Regions from separate parts of the Homo sapiens genome. Here regions 2, 3, 4, 5 and 6 are each linked to region 1. Evidence: promoter capture Hi-C in 16 types of primary human blood cells and fetal thymus (Javierre and others, 2016). All regions are on one chromosome and are shown on one strand. The core of a region is centred on a gene start or on the middle of the fragment in contact, and the rest is flanking DNA. Distances in the headings are between cores, read along the strand shown.

Region 1 (2,543 bases), core at 23-2,522:
GTCTAAACCCCACCTACAGCTAAAATCCTCCAATAACTTCCCATGACTTTGGTGATAAAATAAAAAATCATTAGCAGAATTGAGAAATCCTTCCTGATCTGACTCTTAACTTCTCTCCCCCAAGTGGCATGAAAGCATCATTTGGATTCTGAATTCCATGACACCAGGTATCAAGTTTTCTACCAGTCAGAATCACTACTTATTTACAGACCATATTTACAGAGGGAGACAATATGGAGAGGTTCTTGCTCTATTCTTGCCATAACACCATGTCTTCAATTTCACAACTAGATATATAGTTCCTATCCCTCTAATTCCCTTCTCCTCTCCAGCGCTTTTTCACTTGATCAACACCTAGCTGATTCTAGCCTCAGCAAAGACCTCACCTGCTGTATGTAGGCCGGCTCTGCCGTTTCCAGAATGGGTTAAGTATGCTCTCTTGTGTGTCCATATCTACCTGTGCTTTCCTATATCCAGATCTCCAACAGCCCCTGTTGTAACATCCTTGTCATCACCATCTCACAGCTCTTACCACTGTAAGCTCCTTGGGGCCAGTGACTGTGTTTTTATTTCTGTATTACTAAGGTGAATATACAAGGCAGGAATTTAATATTAGCTAGTTCATTTGATCCTGCCAAACCTCTGTAATTAAGGAAGCAGAAAAGGTCCCATAGTCTCATTCAATAGGTGGCTGAGGTTTAGAGAGTTTTGTATCCTGTCCAAGGTCTTACAGCTAGTTAGAAACAGAAACTAAATTCTCAACTTGAGTCCTGTATTCTTTCTACTATTCTCCCTCTCAATCCCTCTCTCTCTTTCTCTCTCTCTCTCTTTCTCTCCCTCTCTCTCTCTCACACACACACACACACACACACATACACGCTTACATGTTTCTACCATCGTGAATGAATTCTAGGTCAAGTTTATGATGTTAACCAGATATTCCAACCACTATGTGTTGATATGACTCTAAAAAGAAAAAGATTTCTGAAAGCATTTTGCGAGGCATTTATAGAAGTAAGAGATATTTTCATTTTATCACCGCAACCTCCATTAAAAATTGGAGACTATTATTCCTGGAGACTTCAGAATTTTCTTTGGAAATATCTCCCAATTCAAAAGGAAGTCTGACACAGCCTCATAAAAATCTATGTCGTAATAGGTGCTGTGTCACTGAAAACCACTGAAAAGACAGGGTTAAGAACACAAAGTGAGCTGCACACCATATATGGAGAAACCCGTTTCTTAAAACTAGTGATGAACTCATGCTCTGTTCTGTTTTCTCAAAGCTGAAGTCGGCTAGGTTTGCAAAGCTGTGGGCTGAGCACTCAGGCAATCACACTCTCAGAAACTGCGGCGGCTCTGGACTGCAGCCTCCCAAGGCTCCATGCCAGACAAAGCATGCGTGTCACACTTGCTACAATAGCCTGGATGGTTTCTTTTGTCTCCAATTATTCACACACAGCAAATATTTTGCCAGATATCGAAAATGAAGATTTCATCAAAGACTGCGTTCGAATCCATAACAAGTTCCGATCAGAGGTGAAACCAACAGCCAGTGATATGCTATACATGGTAAGGAAAATATCATTAATTGTGGCGTCAGTCAGTCAGAAACAACTAATGTGTATTGACTTTGGTGTTAATACCTTCGTAATACTGAATGATTTTTTTTTCATTGTGATTAATGTATGCAGTAAATTCACAGTCTGTGATCAAAACACATCCAGTTTAGCTCTGTCTACCCAACTGTTGTTATAAGCAAGTGCCACAGCACATTTTACTTCTCTTTGGACACTTCCTGTTTTCTGGTTTTCAGTGGATTTTACTTCTCTTTTTGTTATCTTCCTCCCTGTTAATTTTTGTGATTTGGTTTTCTTTTTTTTTTTTTTTTTTTGTCTCTAAATTTACTTTTTTTGCTGCTGACAAAGTACTGAGTTGCTCAGGTAGGCAGAATGGCATCTGGGGAAAGGATGGGATTTTGATTCAGTAAGGCTTGGGATTGAATTTCAGATCTGTGGCTTTAAGCTGGTTTTTAACCTTTCTGAACTTCTTAGGATATGGGCTGTTGTGGTTATGGAATAATGTTGTGAAACACGGCACACACTATTTTGCCCACAATTAGCCTTCAGTGAAATGTCAGTTTTCCTCACTTAGATTCTAAATTCCATGAAACTAAATTGTCACGTTTCCTACCAGCCCTACTCAGTGCTTGAAGACCATATTTATAGAGGACTCATATGCAGTGGTATCTTCTCTCCTTATCTCACCTCGTTTTCCATTCAAATTCCCACTGTACTCACCCCAGTTACATTTCAGATGAACCCCCTATTGTTTAATGTTTATTTTTGCAGACTTGGGACCCAGCACTAGCCCAAATTGCAAAAGCATGGGCCAGCAATTGCCAGTTTTCACATAATACACGGCTGAAGCCACCCCACAAGCTGCACCCAAACTTCACTTCACTGGGAGAGAACATCTGGACTGGGTCTGTGCCCATTTTTTCTGTGTCTTCCGCCATCACAAACTGGTATGACGAAATCCAG
Region 2 (2,543 bases), core at 15-2,514, 890 kb after region 1:
TATGGCTGAGACAGAATTTTTAGAACTGGTACATATACATTCTTCCATCTTTGACAACCTCAAATTTGAGTGTAGAAGGGAAGGTACACAGACTTGAATTCCCATGACAGAGAATGATATGTATGTGCAAACATGTAGGGAGGACAAAGTTGCATAATAAGTACTAAGTGCCTAGCAAAATATCTCTTATACATAAGTCTCTTTCTCTTAACACAAAGATATAACAACAATAAAATAGGGAATGTGTATACAATATTTCTGATTCAAAAATATAAGCCATCTAGCAAGAAGTTCATGACTTAAGAACAGAAATGATAGCCTTAGTTATTACCCAACTAATAAATCCTATAGAAGCCAGTCCATCCAGTAACTTTACTTTTGTATCAGAGAATGGAACAGAAGTAGATTCTGCACCACTCCCTTTACCTAGAGTTCTAATGCTTAAATCAGGTTAGAAAACTGTTGCCAGGTAGAAACTAAGAGTCATTAATTAGTCCTGTAATCTTATTTAAACAAAAACGTTCTTTCTTTCTTTTTTTTTAAGGTGCTGGAACAATTGAGAAAGAAAAAAATGAGTAGTTTTGAGCTACAGAAAAGCAAGACGATTTATATTATATTTGACATTCATATACACAAAAACAGAATACTGTCACTTCCACAAATGATAAACTATTTTGCTGAATTAAGATATGACAGAAGGTGACAAAATGACCATATCATTAAGGAATTGAAAAACTACTCTCTGATCCTCATGAAGTTAGCTGTAAAACAGTATACTTACTTCTCTGATTCAAAATCTCCCTGTTCTTCAAATTTTACAGTGTGCCTTATTAATCTCCATTGCTTAATGTCAGGTGTTGGATTCCAGAAAACCTCTGAATTATCAGTCTTTTTATCAGTAATAAAAACTTCACTATCCTATATTTAAAAAAATTCAAAATTAATGTAAAGAATTATACTTAGAAGGCAATTATATAGTATAGTAATATGACGGTGATAATTTCTTCTGGTTAATCCTCCAGTTAAAAGCATTTTTAAAACAAATATAACTAGCACTTTTCCAAAAACTCCAAGTTTCTTATCATTTTTATAAAAACATTAAGATTGACTACGTAATACTAGTTAATTAAAAAGAATTTGGTTGAATATCCAGTTTGTGAAATTTCATAAGTTTTACTTAATAAATTTCAAACATTACATGCAAAGCCTCAATAACCATCTCCAAACTGTCCAAGTAGAGCATAGTATTTGTTGCAGCTACAATGAGATGCTGTTGACTATCCATGGATTCAATATACTCAAACATACACACACACACATCCCTCTGAAAGAGCCTTTACTAGCATTAAAAATTTGAGGTCTATCTCTATCGAATAATCTTTCTATCTAAGACATGGACGGTCTTGCTCTCTTGTGTAGGCTGGAGTGCAGCGGTGCTATCTACCTTATCTATCTAATCTATTTTACCTATCTAATTTATCTACCTGTTTAACCATCCTTCTCCTTCTCTCTCTCTCTGTCATCTCTCACTCTCATCTCTATCTTATCTATCTGTCTGAGACAGGGTCTTGCTTTCTCACCCAGGCTGGAGGGCAGTAGCACAATCATGGCTCACTGCAGCTTCCACCTCCCAGGCTCAAGCAATCTTCCTGCCTTAGCTTCCTGAGTAGCTGGGACAGGCATGTGCCATCATGCCCATCTAATTTTTTTATTTTTATGTTTAGTAGAGAAGAGGTCTTGTTATGTCACCCAGGCTGATCTCAAACTCCTGAGCTTCCCAAAGTGCTGGAATTATAGGTGTGAGCCACCCCACCCAGACAGAAATTTCATTTTTTAAAAATGACTGCTGCTTTATCTTTTTTCCAGAAGACTCTCAGATTTAAGGCAATTAAAAAAAATTTTCAGAGTGTATGTGGCCACTTAACAAAGTCCCTAACTTCACTTTCTCATATTTCTCAACATTTTCTGCTTACTGCATGCAGAAAGGAGCATATACTCAGTGCTCATAGTATGGTATATCCATGCAGTACCATGATTCTTTTTATTCATTTAAGCGTCTCTTAACAAAATTACATAAATATGAATTTAGGTTAGCAGAGAAGTAAATAAAAGCCATTGCTCTCACACACCACTATATCCTTTCCATGTTCCACTGAAAGGAATATAACTCTAATTGGAACTATGCCTCTTTCTTCTATGTGAGTAGAGTGCTGTGCATAAAAGCACAGTCCTGGGGCCAGGGTTCCTGGGCTTTAATTCTTGTTCCACTACCTACTTTGAGCAAATTATGTGAACTCTCTGTGCCTCAGTGTCCTCTTCTGTAAAATGGGGACAATAATAAACAATAATAAAATGGGCATGGCACCTATATACTCACCTCATAGCGTTATATGTTATAAATATTAAATCAGTTAATATGAGTAACATTCTTAAATAATGCAGTAAGTCATATATAAGTGTTAGCTATTTCTACTGATTTTAAGTTTTGGAAATAAAATATTACACAAAATTAACTACTGTTGATAACAGAACACCACCAAAAT
Region 3 (2,543 bases), core at 15-2,514, 870 kb after region 1:
ATTTAGAATAAACTCTGATCCAGAAGTGGAAAAAAGAGGCTGAATGGTTTCTGTTACTATCACCATTCGCATGTCACCATCTGCTGGGCGGTACACAGAAAAATCTTTCTGAAGCACAAGACCAGCTATGATCCTGGAATCTGAAACAGGAAGGCCAGTGACACCAACATTCAACTCTACAAAATGGTCATCCACTAACTCAAATACACCAATCCCACTTTTACAAGTCATACACTTGAAAAAGTAGTCACACATCAACTGTGAAATAAATTTATGATTATTTCTTCCCACTCTTCCACAAAAGTATGCTTCTAAGAGCAACTCTAAAGAGCTCCTACACAATGTTCTCTCTTTAGCAGACGAAAAGATAGACAAAAAGTGTCTACTTAGGTACTGGTCCATAATACCGTCTAATATTTGTGTCTGAAACGTTAGGAGAGCCTGGGAAATAAATTTCCACCGAGAACAATTTTTCCAATGCCTTCCATGGGTTTGAATGTTTTCACACATCAAAGGATCCTTTTCTCTGTCTGTGATTGCATGAAGTCCTCTAAGCAAATGGCAAAGAAAGATAATAAATGTTTTTGCACCATCTCCTGTTTTTTTGAGATGACTGGAAACACAGTCCACTATCATCCTGTACAAAAAAGAAATAAAGCAACTCATTTTCAGAAGGCTGGCTTCCCACATCTTAAAACCATGTTTACACAGCCATAAGCATAAAATGAGAATATTGTTCCTTGGATACATCCTTAGTTTTTTCCTTTCTTGGAAAAAACTCTGCTCTATTCCAAGATTCCACCGTTGGGTGGAGTGGGGAGAAGTGGTCTTGAGAATTGGTAAGATTTGGGGTGCAGGAGTGTTCCCTTGGGCAGGGCTCTAATTCCGAGCATACAGCGGTTTCACCCGAGGTCAGTCTTTCTAAGTACGCATCGCCTCAGGATGGGACAAGAGCTCCACAGAGGCTGCCTGGGGTGCCCGGCTACGGGTTAGCGTGTGGGACGCGGGTACCTGGCTATGGGATGCTCTAAGTGTAGCGCCTCCAGGAGGCGGCCTCCATTCCGGCTGAGAAGCACCTCGCCAGTGGGCTTCGTACACAAAACTTGCCGTCCCTCGGGCCCCACGCAGCAGCTCACGATGGCTTCCAGCACCTCGGCCACCTGCAACGCCGCCTTCACAGACCCTGCAGCGGCCATAGAACTTAACATATCTGGGCCGCTTCCCCTTTTTGACCAGCTTGCAGAACACCCGGGCCGACCGAAAACAGGGGTGGGAACGGCCGGAAACGGAATAGGCGGGGAGAAAACCCGGAAGCCAGGAGTCGAAGCCGGGGTAGCACGGCTTCTTGGTTGGGCGAGAGGGCTGCCCTTCTGTCCGCCTGGTGGAAAAGCCCTGCAGCTTTGCCAGGTGGGGTGAGCTGGCCCGTTGTACGCGAAGGCAGAAAAAACAGACTAGGATTTCCAGCAGCTGTGCCTGGAGCGGCAACCCTAAGCCCCTCCCCGGCTCCCTAGGTGAATTCATCTCCCTCCAGTGGCGTCCGCTGCCCCCAAATCCCTTAGTCTCCCGAGAAACTTTCTTCCTAAGTCAACACGGTAGTGGGGCCTGCGTGAAGGAGAGGGCACCCCGGTTGGAACTCTGCTGGCTTTCATCCCCTGCCAGAAGCTGCTTTTTCCGGGGCAAAACCTCTGCCTTGGATTCACGCATGTTCCTGTCCACATTCCCCACGAGTTGCTCTCCTTACCATAACGGAAATAATTTGTAGATGCAGGACAGGTGAGGAGAGCCTGGCCACAGCCATGAATTGCAGGCTTTATGTCTGCTGCAGAGGCTTTACCACATTTCCTAGACTCAGGTATCACAATAAAACTCTAGACACCACAAATATATTAAGCAGAAATGATGCGAAGTCTCTATTTTTTGAGATGGACTCCCGCTCTGTCGCCCAGGCTGGAGTGCAGTGGCGCAATCTCGGCTGACTGCAACCTCCGCCTCCCGGGCTCAAGCGATTCCCGTGCCTCAGCCTCTCAAGTAGCTGGGATTACAGGCATACGCCACTGTGCCCCGCCAATATTTGTATTTTTAGTAGAGATGGGGATGTCACCATGTTGACCAGGCTGGTCTCGAACTCATGACCTGAATGATCCACCTGCCACGGCCTTTCAGAGTGTTGGGATTACAGGCATGAGCCGCTGTGCAGATTTAAATCCATTAATCACGTCGGTGATCAACAGTATGCTTTAAAACACATGGCCAAGGATTATTGTATATAACCCAAAGACAGAAAATACTGTCTCTTATAACATTTTTTTTGTTTTTTAAGAGATGAAGTTTCACTCTGCCGCCCAGGCTGGAGTGCAGTGGCGAGATCATAGCTTACTGCAGCTCCGCATTCCTGAGCTCGTGATCCTCCTGTCTTAGCCTTCAAGTCGCTTTGTGCCTCACTACGCCTGGTTATTTTCTCTTTTAGTAGAGACAGGGTCTCCCTGTGTTGCCCAGGCTGATCTTGAATTCCTGGCCTCAAGTGATCCTCCCAACTTGGCCTT
Region 4 (2,543 bases), core at 19-2,518, 670 kb after region 1:
TCACACAGCCAAGCCCAGACGCAAGGTATGGTGAAATAGAATCTACCTCTTGGTGGGAGGAGCTTCAAATTCACATTTTAAAGAGGTATGCTTACAGAGATGGGAAAAAATTATAGTCATTTTTGCAATTCACCACCAGTACATAGTTTGTATGAAGCTTAACATTTTAGAAATATAGACAAAGCATCCGCCATTGTGTGTGTGTATATATATAATATATATATAAATTTATATATATATATATATATGCACTTTTTTTTTTGAGACTGAGTCTCACTCTGTCACCAAGGCTGGAGGGCAGTGGTGTGATTTTGGCTCACTGCAACCTCCACTTCCCAGGTTCCAGCAATTCTCCTGCCTCAGCCTTCTAAGTAACTGGGATTACAGGCACTCACCACCGCGCCCAGTTAATTTTTGTATTTTTAGTAGAGACGGGTCTTCACCATATTGGCCAGGCTGGTCTCAAACTCCTGACCTCAAGTGATTCACCCGCCTCAGCCTCCCAAAGTGCTGGGATTGCAGGCATGCACCACCACGCCTGGCCTGGATTGTATATTTTATTTTAGCCTTACCTGCTGATTGAGTTGCAAATCAGGCAAGTCGAAAAAAAAAAATCCCATTCGACAACACAAATCCTACTTTTCTTTCATGATTTTAGTTTCAGATTACCTGTAGAACTTGATGCCACACAGAGCAGTTGCAGTTGGACCAAAGTGTGGTGATTATAGATGGGGTTGGGGTGAGGAAAGGCTGTCCATGGGCTGTGAGAGTAGGCTTCTCAAGTTTTAAGCTTCCATGATGTCACCATGGACTAAAAGCTTGCAGAAACAAAAGGAAAACAGCAAAAATGCTTTATTTTTCTATAAGAGCAAATAGATCTGGCCTCGCTGGGCAAAAAAACATGTATGCATAATTTAGTGAATGGGCATCTTTGGTGACTGATGGAAAAGGGATTTAGCTGAGACTCAATCCCTGGGTGAGAGACAGAGAGTAGTGAGTCAAAACCTCTAGAGAACGGTCACAAAGAGAGCTCATTCTCCATGTAATAATGTTTGAGAATCCTTCAGTGTGAGGAAGGTAGTAATTCTTTTTGATTTTTCTGAGACAGGGTCTATGTTGCCCAGGCTAATCTCAAACTCCTGGCCTCAAGGAATCCTCCTGCCTCACCCTCCTGAATCACTGGGACTACAGAAAGGTAGTAAGTCTACCACTGTGCCCAGAAAAGTAGTAAGTCTAATAAACCTAGACATTAATGCAGCATGACCCTGTTTTTTACTTTCCTCGTTTATAATGGGGGAGAATCTGGTTGTGCTAGGGATGTTTTCCCCCTACCTCGTCCCTTTCTCCTCACCCGTGAACAGGTTCTGTGGATCATGATTCTTAGATAATATTCCTCACTTTCCCAAATGGCCTGCTCATGGTTATCTCTTCCCATAAGGCAATGAAGTGAAAATAGACATTAGCTGTCAGCTGTCAATCATTTTTTATGAAGACCCCCAAGATGAGCACTGAAGAAATACTCCCCTTTCTGAAATACAGTAATATTCAGCTTTGCTTGGTATCTTCTGAGCCAAAACATGGCTTAAGTGATGAATAAGTAACAGGGTGTTGCCTGAATTTTCCATATGCCTCACATTTTGGAAAAGCCTAGGAGAAAGGAAATAACTGTTAAAACATAAACATTGAGAGGGAATTTATAGTAATGTGGTTCAGTGCCCTAAGCTTATAAAGGGGCCTTGGCCACTATTGATTCCAAGTGGAAAAGCAAGACCAAAAAGTTAGGCCCAGGACAAGGCATGGTGGCTCACTCCTGTAATCCCAGCACTTTGGGAGACCAAGGTGGGTGGATCACCTGAGGTCAGGAGATTGAGAGCAGCCTGGTCAACATAGCGAAACCCCATCTCTACTAAAAATACAAAAATTAGCTGGGCGTGGTGGCACATGCTTGTAATCCCAGCTTCTCGGGAGGCTGAGGCAGGAGAATCACATGAACCCGGGATGTGGAGGTTTCAGTGACTAGAGATCACGCCACTGCAATCCAGCCTGGGCAACAGAGCAAGACTCTGTCTCAAAAAAAAAAAAAAAAAAAAAAGTTAGGTCTTGGGCCCCTCGGCCCCTCCTCCACCAGAGCTCTCTTATCTGTTATCTGTTTTACACATTGGGATTTTGCAAAATGTTTCTTGTGATGAAAGTTTCCTAATGCTAAGACATCATTTTGTAGATGAGGAACTGGAGGCCCAGCAAAATGTGGTGACTTGCTCAAGGTCACAGCAGTTGTCATTTGTTGAGCTGAGGGCGGAACTCAAATCTCAATCTCTAGTCCAATGTACTTTGTTCTATAGCATGCCATGTTCCACTTCTTCATATCTAAGCTGGGCAACTTCCTTTTAGTAGATTCTCACTCACAAGATATTAAGGATATTGCCAAAATGTATAGCACAAATCAGAAGATGAAAACTGTCATTTCTTTTTTGAATGATTGCTACAATATGATCTGGGTTCTGGCTTAGAGTTCTTACTTTGCCTCTCACAAGCTGGGTGAC
Region 5 (2,543 bases), core at 19-2,518, 570 kb after region 1:
TCTAAAAAGAGAAAACCTACTTTCCTATCAAGGGGCTGATTATAAATTAAAACACATAGTAGCTGCAAGAATCACTCTGCTCACTGCCAATTTATAAAATTAAAGAACAGAGTACAATCATGTGGATAAAGTGGATGATCAGACAAGTATTACTGTAAATATTACTCACCTACACTTAAGTGTGGAATGCACTGTACGAAAAGGACCTAAAGCCTACTCTAACAATTGCCGTTGAGCAATAAACATATTCAAAACATCTATATGCAACCTAATCTTAACCTAACCATCATTCAATACTACCTTGAATAGAAATTCTATGCCTCCCAGTAAATGTTTTCTTGTGCACTAAAGAAAGTCCTAGCTCTGTGAAGTCAAGGCAAGGGCATAATAGATCTATAGCACTAACCAAACATAAAAAAGTTTCATAAACTCAGAACAATCTTATTAGCAGAAAATTAAAAGCTAAGATAAATGAATCCAAAAATCCTAAGGAGACATACTTAAAACCCAGAAAAGCTATATACAGAACATCAGTAATTAGCCTAATTTTGAATTATATTATGTCCTGCTTCTTAAAAACTAAACTAATCTATTACCAATTCTGACCACTATACCCTCAACCAATTATTTCTTTGCAGGATTCAAATTCGCTTACATCATCATCATCATCTTCAATAGCTTCTCCAGTAAAATATAACACTGATCTTGGGATTATACGCTCACGTAAAAAGTGACCAATTTCGAAGTCTGCAGCAAGGATAGCTTCAGCATCATCATCCTATTTTTAAAGGAAAACAAAAGCAGAAAATTTAGGAATAACTGTGTTACTTAATTTGGCACATGTAAGACTCTTAGAGGCTGGGTGTGATGGCTCACAACTGTAGTCCCAACACTTCAGGAGGCCAAAGTAGGAGGATCACTTGAGCCCAGAAGTTCAAGAGCAACCTAAGCAACATAGTGAGACGCCCCCTGCGTTTGTACAAAAAATAAACAATTAACTGGGCAGGGTGGCACACGCCTGTAGTCTCAGCTACTTGAGAGGCTGAGGTGGGAAGATTGCTGGAGCCCAGCAGCTTGAGGCTGAAATGAGCTGTGATCACACCAGTGTACTCTAGCCTGGGCAACCGAAAAAAAAAAAAAAAAAAGACAGACTCTTCAGTTTAAATTATATGATGAAGGGAAGAAATGCTCAACTTTACTTTTTACTTTCCATGATTTTTCTCACACCATGTTAACAAATGATTTGTCATTTTTAAATTTCCTTAATAACTTTTCCAAGTTTTTAACAAAAAGAAAATAAGCTAGCAGGCCAGTATGCATACTAAGATAAATTGTGAAGAATAAAAATTAGAACTGCTTAGTTTTTGCTGGTTTAAACATAAATACATAAAAGCAACTGTTACATGTCCGCAATTTTCCTTTTAAAATATTATTGAAAACACCAAATAGAAAAATAAAAAAAAAAACCCTTGGGTTATTGTTAATATATAGTTATTGTTAATATTGTTAAGTACATAGCAAATAGAAGGACATAATAAACAACCACAGAGGATCACTTTATAGTTCCTAAAAGACAGTACCCAAACAGCTGTACAGTTTTAAGTCTACTAATCCCAAATGAGACAGTCCTAGTTCAGAAAGACAATATACTAACTAAATCAGGTGCCCCTAGCACTTTTCTTTTTTAGAGACAGGGTCTCGCTATGTTGCCCAGGCTGGCCTCAAGTGATCCTTCCACCTCCGCCACCAGAGCAGCTGGGACTACAGGTGCCTGAAGCTGTACCTGGCTTAGGATTTCTATTTAATAGAAAAGCACAGGGCAAAAGTGGGTCTGACATTATTCACAATTAAAATAATCCCACTTTGGCCTGGCTCATGCCTGTAATCCCAGGACTTTGGGAGGCCAAGGCAGGCAGATTACCTGAGGTCAGGAGTTCAAGACCAGCCTGGCCAACATGGTGAAACCCCGTCTCTACTAAAAATACAAAAATTAGCGAGTTCAATGGCACGTGCCTGTAATCCCAGCTACTCGGGAGGCTGAGGCAGGAGAATTGCTTGAACCCGGGAGGCAGAGGTTGTGGTGAGTGGAGATCGCACCACTGCACTCCAGCCTGGATGACAGAGCAATACTTCATCTCAAAAAAAAAATAATAATAATAAAATAAAATAATCCCACTTCTATGATACTAAACAATGATACAAGTTCTATGATACTAAACAATGAGCACACCCTCTGTGAATTCCATGAATGTTTGAGTCAACAACATAATCTAATAAATAGAAAAATCCAAAAGGGGGTGGGGAGGAATTCAAACCACAGGTGGAGGTTTTCTATCCTTAACTAGACTGTTTTGTCATCATCAATATTTAGTAACAAACAAACAAACAAACAAAAAAAAACCCCAAACTTGAACACAAACTCCAACCCATCCACTGATATGAAAATAGTGTGATGCTCTATCTTAATACTTAAAGTAGTTTTTCTCACCTGAAATTCACACTGCTTTATGTTCTCTTTTTTTGTCCTATAAGCCAAGCCAGAA
Region 6 (2,543 bases), core at 29-2,528, 540 kb after region 1:
TCCTCTTGTTGAGCATGAATGAAAAGCCTGAGATTCTTCTCCTGTTTTCTTGATTTGGATCTTTTGATAGACTCTGTGATTGGTGCTGGACATGACGTCTCTAAGGGAGCTAGCTTCTGCAAAACCAGCAAGCACCACTGATGGTGTCTCTGGCTTTATTGCTCCAGTTTCCGCTAAGAACCTTCGATCTTTCTTATATCTTTACCATGTCAATATGACTCTGACAGGAAGGCACTGAAAGCAACTACGTATTTCTGTTTTGAAATTTAGTTTTGTTCTATTTAAATTGTTCAGATGTAACGAAGGACCAATTGAAAATCATTACAACAGTACCATATGAGAAAGGAAAGTGTAAACCTTAGTAAGAATTATAAGAATACCTAAAATAGCCGGGCGCGGTGGCTCACGCCTGTAATCCCAGCACTTGGGGAGGCCGAGGCGGGCGGATCACGAAGTCAGGAGATCGAGACCATCCTGGTTAACATGGTGAAACCCCTTCTCTACTAAAAATACAAAAAAAATTAGCTGGGTGTGGTGGTGGGCGCCTGTAGTCCCAGCTACTCGGGAGGCTGAGGCAGGAGAATGGCGTGAACCCGGGAGGCAGAGCTTGCAGTGAGCCGAGATCACGCCACTGCACTCCAGCCTGGGTGAGAGTGCAAGACTCCGTCTCAAAAAAAAAAAAAAAAAAAAAAGAATACCTAAAATACTCTAAATTAATGTCTTTAAGAGCATTCCCATCTCTGAGAGAGGTCTGCATCGTATTTTAGTGCTAGCACACAGCCACAGTTTGCATAGCGTTTAAGCGCAAAGGCAGTGGAGTTAAATACCCAGATAACAATTCTCATCCTGCTGTTTATTTGGCAAGTTTCTTCAGTTCCCCAATCCTCAATTTCTTATCTATTAAGTAGAGGCTAATAAGACCTATAATAGAGGCTGCTAGTTTCCTTTCCAATAACCATTCTCCCCTCCTTCTTTGCTGACAGAACCCTAATTTTATTTGGGATGGCAATTTGGCCAGTACATTTCTAGCCCTCCTTTGCAACCCTGGATAGCAAATGTGGTGTTAAGTGGAAGTCACCATATTGGGATTCCAAAATTTTTCTAGGCTGGATATGGTAGCTCAAACTTGTAATCCCAGCACTATGGGAGGCCAAGTTGAGAGAATCACTTAAGTCCAGGAGTTCGAGACAAGTCTGGGCAACATAGGGAGACCCTGTCTCTACAAATAATTTAAAAATTAGTTGAGTGTGGTGGTGCGTGCCTGTGATCCCAGCTTCTCAGGAGGCTGAGGCAGGGGGATCACCTGAGCCCAGGAGGTTGAGGCTGCAGTGAGCTGCTGTTTCCCTAATTTTCTTTCTTCCTGTTCTAGAGCTCGAATATGGTAGCTGGAACTCCAGCAGCCATCTTGAATCATGAGGCTAGAAGTCCTGTACCAAGGGTGGTAGAAGAGAAAAGAAAGAAGGAACCCGGATCTGTGACAAACTAAAGTCACCTTACCCACCCTGGGCCACCCACATCTAGGTTACTTTTACATAAAAGAGAAGTAAATCTTTATCTTAATACACTTATTTTGATTTATCTGTAACAACAGGGTGTTTTTTTTTTGAGACGGAGTTTCACTCTTGTTGCCCAGGCTAGAGTGCAATGGCGTGATCTTGGCTCACCGCAATCTCCGCCTCCTGGGTTCAAGCAATTCTCCTGTCTCAGCCTCCCGAGTAGCTGGGATTACAGGCGCCTGCCACCAAGCCCAGCTAATTTTTTGTATTTTTAGTAGAGAAGGGGTTTCACCATGTTGGCCAGGCTGGTCTTGAACTCCTCACCTCAGGTGATCCGCCCACCTTGGCATCCCAAAGTGCTGGGATTACAGGCATGAGCCACCGCTCCTGGCCTGCCCTGTGGTCCTATTTTACACAGTCATTTGGTTCAACTGAATATCATTTTTTAAAGCCACATTGAAATCAAAGTGTTTTCCCAGGCTCTTAGAGTGCCCGGGTCAAGAATGCTGACAATCTGCTGTCAGAGAGAGAGGCTGTCCGCGTTACCCCCTATCAGCCCTCCCAGTCATCACTTGCATAAGAACCAGCAGGCAATCCACTGCCTTGTGACAAGCACTGTGACTCCAGGAGGGAGCCAAGTGCTATGAATGAAACCCCGTAAAAGGTCACTTTATGTAAGAGGAAATGTTGGCATCACCCAGAGCACATACACAATTTTGAATTAAAAGCCGGATTGCTGGATGCAGAAGTACATCTACTTATTAAAGATCCTGCTCCTTTTTTCTCCCTATCCTTTCATGAAAAGTTATTACAAACTCTAAAATCTTCTCCAAGTTAAATCCTTAAGTAAAAGAAGCACACAAGAAAACATTGTGTGGTTTGAAGTTCTTAATATCCTAGGTAGGTCAAAAACTGTTATTTATGGTTTAATTTGGAGCTATGTGAATTGCATTCACCTAGTTGCCCAGAAGGGCAGCAACAAATTTTTATCACTCCACGTATTAGGATCTCACCAGTGCCCATAGATCCACTACCCTCAACCAACCT

Evidence for each region. Contacts are between HindIII fragments. The CHiCAGO score rates a contact against its expected background, and 5 or more counts as called.
Region 2: a contact is called between a fragment that was not itself captured here and the fragment with the promoter of GLIPR1 in region 1, in 4 of 17 cell types (total CD4 T cells, activated CD4 T cells, monocytes and 1 more). The highest score is 6.4, in total CD4 T cells.
Region 3: the fragment with the promoter of BBS10 here is called in contact with the fragment with the promoter of GLIPR1 in region 1 in 2 of 17 cell types (naive B cells and total B cells); the score reaches 8.6 in naive B cells.
Region 4: a contact is called between a fragment that was not itself captured here and the fragment with the promoter of GLIPR1 in region 1, in 4 of 17 cell types (monocytes, M0 macrophages, M2 macrophages and 1 more). The highest score is 6.8, in monocytes.
Region 5: a fragment that was not itself captured here is called in contact with the fragment with the promoter of GLIPR1 in region 1 in 8 of 17 cell types (activated CD4 T cells, naive CD4 T cells, naive CD8 T cells and 5 more); the score reaches 9.8 in activated CD4 T cells.
Region 6: a contact is called between a fragment that was not itself captured here and the fragment with the promoter of GLIPR1 in region 1, in 8 of 17 cell types (naive CD8 T cells, total CD8 T cells, total CD4 T cells and 5 more). The highest score is 11.9, in naive CD8 T cells.

Annotation. Positions count from the first base shown.
Region 1 is chr12:75,479,483-75,482,025 of GRCh38, forward strand. GLIPR1 (GLI pathogenesis related 1) reads left to right here and starts at 1,273. Exons shown (of 6, transcript NM_006851.3): 1 at 1,273-1,572; 2 at 2,352-2,543. The coding sequence starts at 1,399. The HindIII fragment of the contact is 5,495 bases long and covers 1-2,543 here.
Region 2 is chr12:76,370,667-76,373,209 of GRCh38, forward strand. OSBPL8 (oxysterol binding protein like 8) reads right to left here. Exons shown (of 24, transcript NM_020841.5): 19 at 782-918. Among named protein-coding and RNA genes, the nearest start is that of BBS10, 24 kb to the left of the region's middle. The HindIII fragment of the contact is 2,592 bases long and covers 1-2,543 here.
Region 3 is chr12:76,347,151-76,349,693 of GRCh38, forward strand. BBS10 (Bardet-Biedl syndrome 10) reads right to left here and starts at 1,265. Exons shown (of 2, transcript NM_024685.4): 1 at 1,012-1,265; 2 at 1-637. The coding sequence starts at 1,208. RefSeq lists enhancers at 571-1,520, 1,521-2,470, 1,617-1,666. The HindIII fragment of the contact is 11,737 bases long and covers 1-2,543 here.
Region 4 is chr12:76,153,852-76,156,394 of GRCh38, forward strand. No RefSeq gene overlaps it. Among named protein-coding and RNA genes, the nearest start is that of NAP1L1, 70 kb to the left of the region's middle. The HindIII fragment of the contact is 904 bases long and covers 817-1,720 here.
Region 5 is chr12:76,049,876-76,052,418 of GRCh38, forward strand. It overlaps NAP1L1 (nucleosome assembly protein 1 like 1), which reads right to left. Exons shown (of 15, transcript NM_004537.7): 12 at 656-778. Among named protein-coding and RNA genes, the nearest start is that of PHLDA1-DT, 19 kb to the left of the region's middle. The HindIII fragment of the contact is 3,492 bases long and covers 1-2,543 here.
Region 6 is chr12:76,016,251-76,018,793 of GRCh38, forward strand. No RefSeq gene overlaps it. Among named protein-coding and RNA genes, the nearest start is that of PHLDA1-AS1, 13 kb to the right of the region's middle. The HindIII fragment of the contact is 6,475 bases long and covers 1-2,543 here.